Regions from separate parts of the Homo sapiens genome. Here regions 1 and 2 are each linked to region 3. The links are contacts of gene promoters, found by promoter capture Hi-C in blood cells and fetal thymus (Javierre and others, 2016). All regions are on one chromosome and are shown on one strand. The core of a region is centred on a gene start or on the middle of the fragment in contact, and the rest is flanking DNA. Distances in the headings are between cores, read along the strand shown. Region 1 holds the start of SART3 (spliceosome associated factor 3, U4/U6 recycling protein). Region 2 overlaps C12orf75 (chromosome 12 open reading frame 75). Region 3 holds the start of TMEM263-DT (TMEM263 divergent transcript).

Region 1 (4,080 bases), core at 95-2,594, 1.6 Mb after region 3:
TCTCAATCTCCAGCTGGTTTTTCTCCTCCTCTTCGTCATATTCCCACTCGTACTCCCCGGGGGAGCTCTCCGCGGAGGAAGCCATGGCGTACTCATCCCCATCGCTCTCGCTCACGCCTTCCTCCTGCTGATCCCACGCTGGCCCCATGGTCTTGTATGTCGCAGCGGCCACAGCCCGCGATAACACCTTCCTCCTTGTCCTAGCCGCCTTAACCTCATCCTCCTCTCCGTCAGCCTTGGGCCCAGCCTTGGACTCAGCCTCGGGTTCTGAAGCCGAGGTTTCGGCCGCAGTCGCCATCTTGCGCTTCTAATGACTCTCGGGTCTTCCCGCGGCCGCCGAAGACCCGCTGAGGCAGAAGCTGCCCGCGGCGCGCGCCTTATCAAAAACCCGTTTTCTTGCCATTGAAAGAGAAACTGGGAACTTAGATAACAGGAAAATCTCCACATACACTAAATTCACATTATTTTATACCCTGTAAAAGCTCCCACCAGATATAAAAACTCATTATAATGGCATGCGTTCCGTCACAACTTCGGACAGAAGTTGGGTCTTTGGGCAGGAAGTGGAAGCCATAGAGGAAGTCATGGAGCGAGAGTGATGTCTGTAGTGAAGAATTTGGCGCCATCTTGAGAAGGTCAAAGTGATTCTTCGATTAAATGCCTTACTTATCGCCTAGTGTGACCTGGCGCTTGGGTTTACTCTCCCCAGCAACTGCGCCTCAAACGCAAAGAAAACTGCAGGTCCTCGGGGAAGGATCGATTTCACCATTCAAGAGAAAAATCCATTTCCCAGATTCCTCCCCTTTATGTAAACGTCTGGTACCTAGTAGACGTTAAATACACGTGAGTTTTCCGGTTTTATAAGATCACATACTGCAAACCAACAGTAAATTACATTAATACGCATTTCTTTAGAAATTCTTAATTGCTAGGCACTGACATATAAATTGAGTTTGCTGTTGTTTTAGAGAGAAAAATAGACATATTCATTTTTTTTCAATCAGGACATGGTATTCGTTTCCTTCTTAAGCTTCCCATTTTTGAGGTAGGAAAGTATTGGTGTGTGTCTCTATCTCTACCTTGCTCCCTCATTAGCAGGCTTAATGGGCAGGAATTATGTCTGTTTTGCTTTCCGTTGGATCCCCGGGTCTAGTAGAGCGCCTTGACACATAGTAGGTACTCGACACAGATGCTGGCTTCATGATGAAGCAATTGTCCTCGAATTAATACAAAAGGGAAGATTCAGACTCAGCGAGCCGGTACCATTCGTCTAGGGACACACAGCCAGGAAGGAACCGAACCAGGATTCTAACCCAGGATTACCCAAGTTCGAATTCTAATTGAACATAAGTCCTTAGCGACCTTGGACGGACTTACTAAACTGCCCTGAATCTCGGCTTCCTTAGCTGCAAAATAGGGTTAGGAAAAGTGGACTCGGTGCTCCTCTGCGCCGCATTCCCGCAGCGGGATTTGTGAAAGCGAACTTGAGCCCCACACTGCAGAAGCCCTGAGGTCCTGTCTCAACCAGAATCCAGCACCCAGGACAAGCCCTCCAGCGACTTCAGACCTTCCCGCTCCCGACCCCGCCCGCCCCCGAGAGGCGTGGTCAAGGCGGGGCCAGAAGGCGGACGCGTGCACGGAGCGGTAAAGCGCAGGCGCAAAGCTTCGGTGACGTCAGAGAGGCGCGCTCCCAGCTCGGAGCCGACTCGCAGACGCGCCCCGCCCCTCGGCGTCGCTCTGGACTGGCGCAGGCGCAAGCCGGCAAGATGGCGGCGGCTGGGGCTTTCCGTCTGAGGCGGGCGGCATCGGCTCTGCTGCTGCGGAGCCCCCGCCTGCCCGCCCGGGAGCTGTCGGCCCCGGCCCGACTCTATCACAAGAAGGTAGGGACAAAAGAGGGACGCGCGGAATGCCGACTCAGCGGAGGCCTGGGCTGGAGGGGCGGCCGCGGGGTTCTGCGCAGCTAGGACTGGGAGCTGTCCCCTCCCACGTCTTTGCCCTGACTCGCTTTCCCTTGCTGCGCAGTGAGGCTCACTGCAACTGATAAACAACAGTTACCGCTCATCGGGCGGCGACTTCCAGGGGGCCCCGCCGCTGGCCGCGACTTCGTGCGTCCCAATTTTAAATTCGCCAACAGCCCAGGAGGCAGGGTCCTGTTGGGACTTGTCTTTCTGAGTCCAGGGACAGACACACCCCCGGAGCGGGCTCCGGCTTCAGCCACTCCGCTGCCCTGGCCAGATGACCTTGGGCTAGTCACTGCGCCTCTCTGAACCTGTTTCCCCAGGTGTAAATGGGGGGCTCTCAGCTGTCCCTTACAAAGGATACTGTGCGTGGAGTCCTGGCATGGTTCCTGGCACATAGGCCCCAGCACGAGGAGACCGTTTCTGTTACTGCTTTAGGAGTGCATAGGGGAGTCAGGCTTGTAACCAACATGCGTAATGTTTTTGTTTTGTTTGGGGGGTTTTTTGGCGGGGAAGGAGGGATAGATTCATAGTCTGCAGCCCCTTGCTGTCTGGTGGCACAAAGTCCCCCAGACGTGAGACTCCCACTCGAGAAACAACTAAAGAATGCCATAAATCAACGTGGCACAAAAGGCCCCTACATTAGATACTATCCTGAGGTCCCTTTTACTTGGAGTCAAAATCCTTAGTCAGATGGGGGGAAAAGGGGACTGGAAGATCGGCGTGCTTACTACTAACCAGTAACCAAACCTCAAGGTTATTAAGGCCTTCTGTGTGCCAGTTCGAATGGATGTTTATTGTGATCTGGCTTCTGCCCTTTCTCCAAGGGCTTCTTCACTCCTCCCCCTCCCGGGGGTGTGTTTTGTTGAGGGTACACCCTGAAGAAACTTGGACTAGCAGCCTTTCAGCAGCCAGGGTGCGCTGCTGCACCAGGGTGATGACAGGCTGTGAAATACGGTAATGGCACTGTTTTTATTTTAAAAGACACATAAACGTACACATTCCATAGCATTGTTCCCTGTGTAACAGTCACCTTAAGGCTTCTAAGAAAGCTTTCCCTCCCTGGGCCATGGTTATTTTTAGAATTTTTAAATAGTAATCATCCTTTGAGGATGGATTTTATTTGAAAATAACAAAACTGCTGTTTGAGCCCAAGTCTGGTGATGTAGGTGGGTGAAAGTCAAGTATTTTTGTAAAAATCCTATGGAACTAAGACATGATTTCACTGATTTTTTTTTCTTCTAGGTATCTCAAATCTGTGAAGTATTGTAGAGGAGACACAAAAGGAATTGGGGGTCACAAATGGTTCTCATTGACATGAGTGTAGACCTTTCTACTCAGGTGAAATTTGGTATTTAGTGATTGCCTGCCAGGTTCAAGATGCTGACCGAGGAGCTTACCATCAAACCAGAGACCAGTACCAATAGAGAGTGAACATGATTTATCTTAACCCTCTCATTTTAGGTTGTTGATCATTATGAAAATCCTAGAAACGTGGGGTCCCTTGACAAGACATCTAAAAATGTTGGAACTGGACTGGTGGGGGCTCCAGCATGTGGTGACGTAATGAAATTACAGGTATGGCTAGTCTTTTTTAATAGTGATAACAATAATCCCTTTAAGTTTACAAAGCACTTGCGCATTTCACTTGGTCTCCATCTTTATTCCTGTGAGATCTCCAAGCATTTCACTTGGTCTCCATTCCTGTGAGATGGGATGAGTCCATGTTAGATATGACTGGAGCAGGGCCTCAATCGTAGCTCTCCTGCTAGGCTAGTGTACTATGCCAACTTTTTCCAAAATAGAAAAGTAATCTCATTTTTGTACTCACTGTATCAGTTTAAATTCTGACTTCAGCCAACTAAAGAGTTTTGTGAATTTTACTGATCAAAGGAAAATCCCAGTGAGCTAGCAGTCCCCAATGAAACAAGAAACACAGTAAATTAAACCTGTCCCCAGATTGGGGGAAACATGAAAATAGTGTCTAGTGCTTTGGGTAAACTGTAGTTGTAGCACCAATCTGCTGCTTCATGGTGAGTGGGCAGCTTGCCAGAGGTCTTCATACCTATCTTGGAATACAGAAACAAAACAGGAGGAAACCACTAAGTGTAATCTGCTGCCC
Region 2 (3,793 bases), core at 1,223-3,722, 1.6 Mb before region 3:
GGGGTTGGGGAGAACTAGAAGCAGAGCTGCAAAAACGCATCTGTGTCTGCCTTGATGCCGAAGACCGGCTGGGCTGCTCTTAGGATTTCTCTGAGAAGCTGCAGCAGTAAGGATGTTTTACATATGTGAGACAGAGCTTTATTATTAACAGTCTGTTAAGATACTTTTCATTAAACACACACACACACACACACACACACACACACAAATAGAAACTTCTTTTTATACCACTTCATGTTGATTGGCAGGCAAGGTCTTCTAGCTTCCCCGGGCCAGCCAGGCTTTGTGTCAAGTGACTTTTGCCAAAACTCACCCTTCTATTTCACCCTGCCTATGTCTCGGGATTTAAGGTACCCTGGATCTGTTTTGAGTAATAACTGCTGACCTATTTCAGTGTCCTTTTGGATAAAGAGCTCCTATCTCCTCCAATTGAAGTCAACCAGATGCCACATCCTAGCCTAACCAGCAAATGCAAACAGCAGTCAGAGGCTGCGGTATTTCCTAGGCGGCTGTGGAGGCCCTGGCAATGACTTTGTAACCTTGGGCCTGTCACATCCCTTAACCCAGACGCCGGTAAAAAATGGAGTTTAAGACTCAATTTGAGTCTTGAATTAAATCCTGTCCTGGTGACAATGCAGAGAGCCACAGGAGAGCGAACTTTTTAGATTCATTTAACAGTGGGGAAGGTTAGTGTAGCACCTTATGCTAATGAGGGCAGACGGGCTTCAAACCTGCCTGTGGCCAGAAAGCTCTGCTTGTATGAAACAATGTCAGGGCCACACCCCGCACTCAAATTGTGTCTCAGTCTACTAGGTACTGTGGCCGTATGCAATCCACTGCATGTGTAGCCTACTTAAAAAAGGTGAAGAAAAGTTATCCACATTAAAAAAAATTGTAGGAAGGATTTGTAGCAGATTTCCCTTAAAATGAGGCTAGTTTCATGCATGTACATTTTGATTTATTAATGAACTGCTTGTCAGTTTTAGGGATGGGGAGGGGGTACCATTGCCAAATGAAAATCAGAATGATGGACCAGGCGCAGTGACTCATGCCTGTGTAATCCCAGCACTTTGGGAGGCTGGGGTGGGTGGATCATCTGAGCTCAGGAACTCGAGACCAGTGTAACCAACATGGTGAAACCCAGTCTCTACTAAAAATACAAAATTAGCTGGGCGTGGTGGCGCCTGCTTGTAATCCCAGCTATTTGGGAGGCTGAGGCACGAGAATTGCTTGAACCTGGGAGGCGGAGGTTGCAGTGAGCTGAGATCGCACCATTGCACTCCAACCTGGGCAACAAGAGTGGAACTCCGCTCCATCTAAAAAAAAAAAAAAAGAAAAGAAAAGAAAATAGAAAGATGGTAAGGTATGATGAGCTAGCTCTAAAATGTTAATGTAAAAATCAAATTTGGGGGGAAAATATGATTTCTTGGGGAAATATGATTATCTTTATGAATATTTGATTGACTTTTTCCCTAGGAGCATCTCTCTTATCACCTAAAGGGAAGTCATATTGAAAAAAAAAAAAAAAGCTACCGAAAGAGTAGTTTGAGGAGCAGCCTCACTTTTGTTTGTGGACAGTGCATGTGAGAGCATGCTATTCTCTCCTCCAGCTTGCTGTTTGCCAAAAATTACTTTTTGTTCAGAGGAGAGAAGGATATTGAGTGCAGATTCAAAACATGCAGGAGACAACATGATGAGCAGGGAGTTATTGCATCACCTCTTTGATGGATATGCCCTTGTCTTGGAGAAGCCATTCCCAAACATTTGCCTGCCTGTGAGTCCACCTGGCTGACTTTGGGATTTGGTCATTGTTATTTTGAAATGTTCTGTCAGTTGGTGTTAGGAATTTAGGTTCAGAGAGGAAATACATCAGGATGAGAGATGTAAAGAAAAATAAACCACAATGCAAAGGTACTGAAAATCTCAGCTGTGAGCTTGGGCATCAGCGTCAATTGCACTGTTGACCAAGCTGCACACTAGGAGGACTGAACCCGAGCAATACGAAACGCGTTAAAGAGATATTGTCTTTCTCTTCTAGTTACTTACAGTGCACTACTTCCAATATGTCCCAGGAGTCATAGAATTCAGTAGCCATACAAACTTTTCAGAAAAAAAAAATGTACAAAGAGATTGTAGAAAGGGTGCTGAACTTAAGAGTCTGGACAGTGAGCTTAAGCTTAGGTTTGGTGCTGTGCTGTTTGCATTATTGTGGGTGTTTCATTTTACTTTTTTGAATTTTGGTTTCTTTGTTTATATAATGGGAATAATTCGGTGTATCTTGTTTCATAAGGCTCATGTGAAACTCAAAAATAACATGAAAGCACACTGTAAACTGTAATTATTACTATATAATAATATTATTATCACCATTTTGAAGGCAAAGTGGTTTTCCTTGAATATTTTTCTATAAGAACATGGCAAATATTTTTTGATGCATTAACATATTATTACAATACCCCTAAATCTGAAATCTCCATTCTGAGCCCTGTTTTACTTTTTGAGTTACTCAGGTAAACTGGATAATTGTTTCCCCTTTCCCTGAGATAGCAGGATGGCTGCCTCTCTTGGCTTTTGTCTGGTGGACTTGGTTAACATGACAGATTGATATGCAGTAGTGTACTTGAGTTAAGTGGATTCCGTATGCCTGATGCATGGAGAAACTGGTATGGAGTAAAAGGGTCAAGTGGCCATAAGGAGTAGTGAGATGGATCAGCCCCTTGATAATTCTGGGTAGACTTGCCCCTGGAGTATGTTTCTATTAATAACTGTAAGCTTACACATCGTCCACCCCTATGTGGGACCTCCTCTGCTGGGAACTTCTAGGGCAACGCTGGGGGCAGCCAGCAATGGATGTTTGTAGAATGAAGTCAAACTTTGTTGCTCTTGAGAAATTGATAGTCTAGGTAGGAAGATTAAGCAATTGAGAATCACTGCAAAGCAGTGGATAATAGAATATAATCTGGACCTTCAAGTTTCCAGGAGATATTGAATGACACAGTTAAATCAGAGAAGTCCTCCTGGAGGAGTTGAGCTGGGGGTCTAGATGGAAATGTGAGAGGCATTTTGAGTACACAAAAGCTCTCCACTTTCACATTTTGATATCATCACTCTCTCAAGGTAGGAATTTGATTTTTCCCAACCTGCAACTATATAAAGGATGCAGCATATTTTTTCTGCATGGTCTGGAGTCTAGACCCCAAATTATGGAGAAACATCGGGATTGAATAGTTCATTTTAAAGTGTCACATTTGTTATAAGGCAGGGAGCTTTTGCACTCTCGCTCACTCTCACTCTTTCTCTGCAGTCAGATTCTTTACTCACTTGTTTTTCCCCCGAGCATGTCTCCGGACTAGGCAGAGAAATGACCAACCTTGCATTCTGAGTTAATGATGTCAGCAGGTTGGTCATTCCCTTTTATATAGTCACATTCATATAGACTATGAAGCAAGTCTTTGTAATGTAAATCAGAAATTCCTTTTTATGTAAACCAGAAAATCCCTTAAAAGTTTGGATAGTTCCCCATATCTACAGTAGTCTATTTTAATGCAGGCTAAGGCTGTAGAAATTATTTGCAGCAGGAGTTATCTCAGAAATATTCAGCTCATGATATTTGGTTAAATTGGTTAGTTGAATTTTTTCTGCCAGAGATATGTAATTGGTAACTGATCTTAACTTTGCAGGCAACTTACTGTCAGAATGTTTCCATAATAGTTTTCTGCTGTTTATGTAACAATAGTCCGAGGGGGAGGAGCTTGATAATTATTTACCCTATTTTATCAGTGTATCCCAGGGA
Region 3 (4,016 bases), core at 38-2,537:
AAAGGTCACATATTAAGGATAGAAGTTTGTGTAATAACGAGAAAACAGAGGATATCCGTTTCTTCACATACTGGATAAACAACAATCCACGGATCCTGCTAATCATCCAACCCATATGTTGAATTGACAAGAGTATTTAATTTCCTCTTTCTGCTTTGAGAAACTAAATATCTTGACAGTCTGAGCACAGTGGCTTAAGTGGCCTTAATTCTCTGATTTCATAAGTTAATGATTAGGTTGAAGCTATAAACTATAGTCCATTCCATTTAAGACCTGGATCAAAGTTAGCTTCATCCAGCATGTTTTAGCACGTCCTTTCTGAGCTATGTTGTCAGTAGTTACCATTCAGTTCCACCATCCTGAATATTCTGCAGTTGATAAACCATTTTGTGAATTTTTTTTTTTTGCTTTCTGTGTATGTTTTTGACTCGCGTGTTTTTGCTTCGCTAATCAGATTGCGAAAGGAAACATCTCACGTTTGCATAGGACTTCACAGTTCATAAAGACCTTTCCCACCCACCACAAAAAAAGTATGACAAGTTTCCCGTCATCTTCATTTTATAGGTGTGGAAAGGGAGTCAAAGAAAAGTTAATCGATACCATTTATCTAGTTAAGCAGGCTTTGAGCAGTTCATCTCCTCCCGTCCTCAAAACGACCTTCTGAGGTGTCTCCTGCAACCCTGCTCTGAAGCTCAGAGCGAGACGGCCTCACATCCCAGGGGGCTCAGCTCTGGCGGGGCCGCCACGCGCCTCCCCGTGCCTTTGGACGGGTGAGGAGAGCTGCTGCCCCGGCGGGGACCACGTGGAGGGGCCTGGTCAGCAAGTGGCAAGGACGCGGCGCAAAGCCAGGCTTTCTAATGTACAATCCGCGGCTCTTTCGATACTGAACACCCACCTCTTCAACAAATTCGAGCGCCTGGCAGGCCCTGCACCAAGCCTAGGGTGATGGCGACCCAGGCGGGTTTTTACTCTCAAGGAGCTCAATTCTAGGGCAGGGAGAAGTAAAATTAAAAAAAAAAAAATCATAACAAACTGAAAAACACATAAATAAGCCACGTCTCTCCTCACCCCTAGCACTTAATCACAAAGGCCTGTAGAGAGTCCCGACGAGAACTTCTGAGCAGGCCCCGCTGTCAGTCCCTGAGGACAGCATGCAAGGGAGGTTGACGTCCCTGGACGAAGAAAGTGCTGGAGAAACTGGCGACCGTCCCACCTTCCCTAAGGCGAAGGCTCTGAATTCCGAAGACCGTTACTCGGCGCGGAACGCGGGCACCGCCGACGTCAAAACACCGGGCCTGGGGGCCGCGGCCTACGCGTCTCCCGGGCTTCGCGCCCCTCGCCCGATTTGATTGGATGGTGGCGGGAAGAAGGCGGGGAGACCCCCGGAGGAGGGGCGCGCAGGCCGGCCGGGGGTTCCCACGGAGGCGTCCAGGGGGCGAAGGGGCGGGAGCGGGCCTCGGAGCGTCGCGCGTGCGCAATTGGGACACAGCCGGCTGGGGACTGCTGGGAGGGCCGGACCCTGCGAGAACGGGTGGGCGTGTGCCCGGTGGGCGCGGGAGGGGCCCGGGCTGCACGAGCGCGCGTGCGCGTCGGAACTGGAGCCGCGGGAGGAGGCGGGAGCTGAGGAGGCGGCGGAGGGGGCGGGTCGCGTCGGGCGCCACGTCCGCAGCCAGAGGCCTCCGCCTCCACCACCGCCGCCACAGTCTTCCAGCTCCACATCCTGAGAGGACGCCTCTGGAGCCGCGACTGCCCGGGGTTGTGCCGGCCGCCGCTGCCGCCCAGGCCGCCTCAGCTCTCCTCTGCGCCGGCCCGCTCACTCCGCCCGGCCCCAGCCCTAGCGCTGGCCGCGACCCCGGCGGTGAGTGAGTCGGGATGCGAGGGCAGGGGCGCAGTCCCGGCTTCCTGCCCTCCTCCGTCGCCCTCTGCCGTCGGCGCCCCTGCCCCTCACCTCCCAGTGCCCGGCCTGGCTGCCCAGCGGGGCCTTGGCGAGGCCCCAGCGGGAAAGGGGGAGGGGCGGGACGAAGTTGGGGGCGGATGGAGGTTCGCTTCTGGGGCTACTCCTCCTTATACGTCGCTGACTGCCCCGCCGCGATTGGAGCTTGCGCACCCCTGGAAAGCCTCCGCCTGACTTCTTAGCATCTGGGGGTTCGGGGTTGGGGGCGGAGGAGGAAGGTGAGGGGCATCAGCAGCCTGGGAGAGGGATGCAGCGGAGGGGCTTGGGTACCGGGCTTCCTCGCCCTGCCAACTCCTGACCTGTTGCTAAACCTCCCTTTTGGGTTCAGGCACACAAGACTTTTTCCCAGTGGACACCCCCATAGCTCTTCCTGGGTAGGAAGGCTGTATCTCCACGCCTAACCTAAAGTAAAAGTGGGAATGGAGAGGGTGCTGGCCGCGCCCAGGGGTGACAGGGAGGGCTGGAGCACCCATCCGTGCCGTCACTGCCTCCCAGTCTAAATAAAAACTGCCTGCTCTGCACACGCAGCTTCAAGACCGACCCCCCAGCTCCCACTTCCAATCAGATCGCCTGTCCTAAACCCTTCTTACATAGAAATTCTGGAGCCCTTCGGGAGTGGGGGGAGTGCTGGGTGTACAACGTGGAGCGGAGGGAGGAGGTGCCAAGCTCAGTGCTAGCCACGGCGCCTCCAGGGTCATTTTCTGCCTCCTGCCACGTCACTCACTGCTAAAGAAAAAAAAAAGATTTGCTAGTGCCTAAAGGGATCAGTAGGGAGAGAAGGGGCCACCCGGAAGGGTTTAGAAACACCTAGAGAAAAGGGAAGGGTTCTTAATTTGATTTTTGCGTCCTTGTGAACACTGTGCTAATTCCAAATGAAAATATTTGCTATATGTGATTATTTGCTGTATGCTATTGTTTAGCCTTTGAAACTTCTGCTGGTGTGAGTGCCCTCAGGGGTTCCCCAGGAATATCGATACAACACCAACAGGTAAACGCGCGCGCCCGTGTGTGTGTGTGTGTGTGTGTGTGTGTGTGTGTGTGTGTGTGTGTATGTGTGTGCGCGCTCGCGCCCATGCTTAACTTTTTAAAAAGAAAGGGAGAAGTAGCCTTTGATAAACCCATATGCATCCTGTTTTGCTTTTTCCACTTTCATTTCTTTAGTCTTTGTTAGAACAGATGTACCAGAAACCAAGTTCAGTAAAAATTTGTCCATTTATAGAAAGCATCGTTAGAAATTATAACGGTTGCTACATTGGACAAATATACAGATTTCTTTGTGTGTGCATGGGTTTGATTTTTTTTTTTTTAACTACAGGAAAATCTTTACCTTTGTTTCAGTTATTCGGTATTTGCTCTTTTTCTATTTCCGGAAGATATCTCACTGGATTATATATAAACATCTTGAGAATAAGACCTTTGTATGCTTGTTCACAAGGATGCCTCAGTGCCTAATAGAATGTTTGACACATAGTAGGAATGCAAATATCTGTTGAAATAATGTGAAGATGGTTTACTGGTTCTCTGGTTTAATAGAGTATTGTAATTCTGCTTAATGTTTCATTTAAGGATAACCCTTAAAAATTGCCATTTTGACACTGTCAGTTATTACTCGTCTAAGTGGGCACTTACAAGTTTTACTGGCAGATGACCTTTTCTTCCTTGCTAGATTGAGAGCATTTCTTGTAGCCTATTTGCTGTTGATTTAATGGGCAGGGGCCATCTTTAAAAGCAGACTCTTCTTGATAGTTGGTTTAACTAGAAAAACATAAAAACAGTAAGCTGGAGTTTTAATGTACTCTGCTTGTTGGTGTATATGTTGTAAAGCTCTGTATACATATATTTTTGAATCTCTTTGCAGTTATTTGGCAAAAAAGCTAAAACATGGGAGTGAGGATGTGGTAAAGTTCTTTTAGGTAGAATATGTAGAAGAATTTAGCTAATTCATTTATAGTCGTCTTTTTCTATTATAGGGAAATTGGCACCTACTGTTGAATAACAGGTGGTTTTAAGTGGCTTTGACAATAAACTTGTGCACTGTATTTTGTAGTTAAGCTTTATATAA

The links. Contacts are between HindIII fragments. The CHiCAGO score rates a contact against its expected background, and 5 or more counts as called.
Region 1: a contact is called between a fragment that was not itself captured here and the fragment with the promoter of TMEM263-DT in region 3, in 1 of 17 cell types (naive CD4 T cells). The highest score is 6.8, in naive CD4 T cells.
Region 2: a contact is called between a fragment that was not itself captured here and the fragment with the promoter of TMEM263-DT in region 3, in 1 of 17 cell types (fetal thymus). The highest score is 5.1, in fetal thymus.

What each region holds. Positions count from the first base shown.
Region 1 is chr12:108,560,857-108,564,936 of GRCh38, forward strand. It overlaps SART3 (spliceosome associated factor 3, U4/U6 recycling protein), which reads right to left and starts at 317. Exons shown (of 19, transcript NM_014706.4): 1 at 1-317. The coding sequence starts at 298. It overlaps ISCU (iron-sulfur cluster assembly enzyme), which reads left to right and starts at 1,740. Exons shown (of 5, transcript NM_213595.4): 1 at 1,740-1,880; 2 at 3,423-3,536. The coding sequence starts at 1,767. RefSeq lists enhancers at 396-455, 466-565, 1,420-1,479, 1,550-1,629, 2,160-2,229 and silencers at 1,840-1,959, 2,920-2,969. The HindIII fragment of the contact is 633 bases long and covers 1,029-1,661 here.
Region 2 is chr12:105,331,418-105,335,210 of GRCh38, forward strand. The region is part of intron 1 of C12orf75 (chromosome 12 open reading frame 75); the gene reads left to right. Among named protein-coding and RNA genes, the nearest start is that of C12orf75, 2.6 kb to the left of the region's middle. RefSeq lists an enhancer at 356-899. The HindIII fragment of the contact is 596 bases long and covers 2,175-2,770 here.
Region 3 is chr12:106,954,208-106,958,223 of GRCh38, forward strand. It overlaps TMEM263-DT (TMEM263 divergent transcript), which reads right to left and starts at 1,288. Exons shown (of 1, transcript NR_185933.1): 1 at 1-1,288. It overlaps TMEM263 (transmembrane protein 263), which reads left to right and starts at 1,700. Exons shown (of 4, transcript NM_152261.4): 1 at 1,700-1,858; 2 at 2,875-2,942. RefSeq lists a silencer at 1,328-2,087 and enhancers at 1,364-1,658, 2,588-2,647. The HindIII fragment of the contact is 6,686 bases long and covers 1-4,004 here.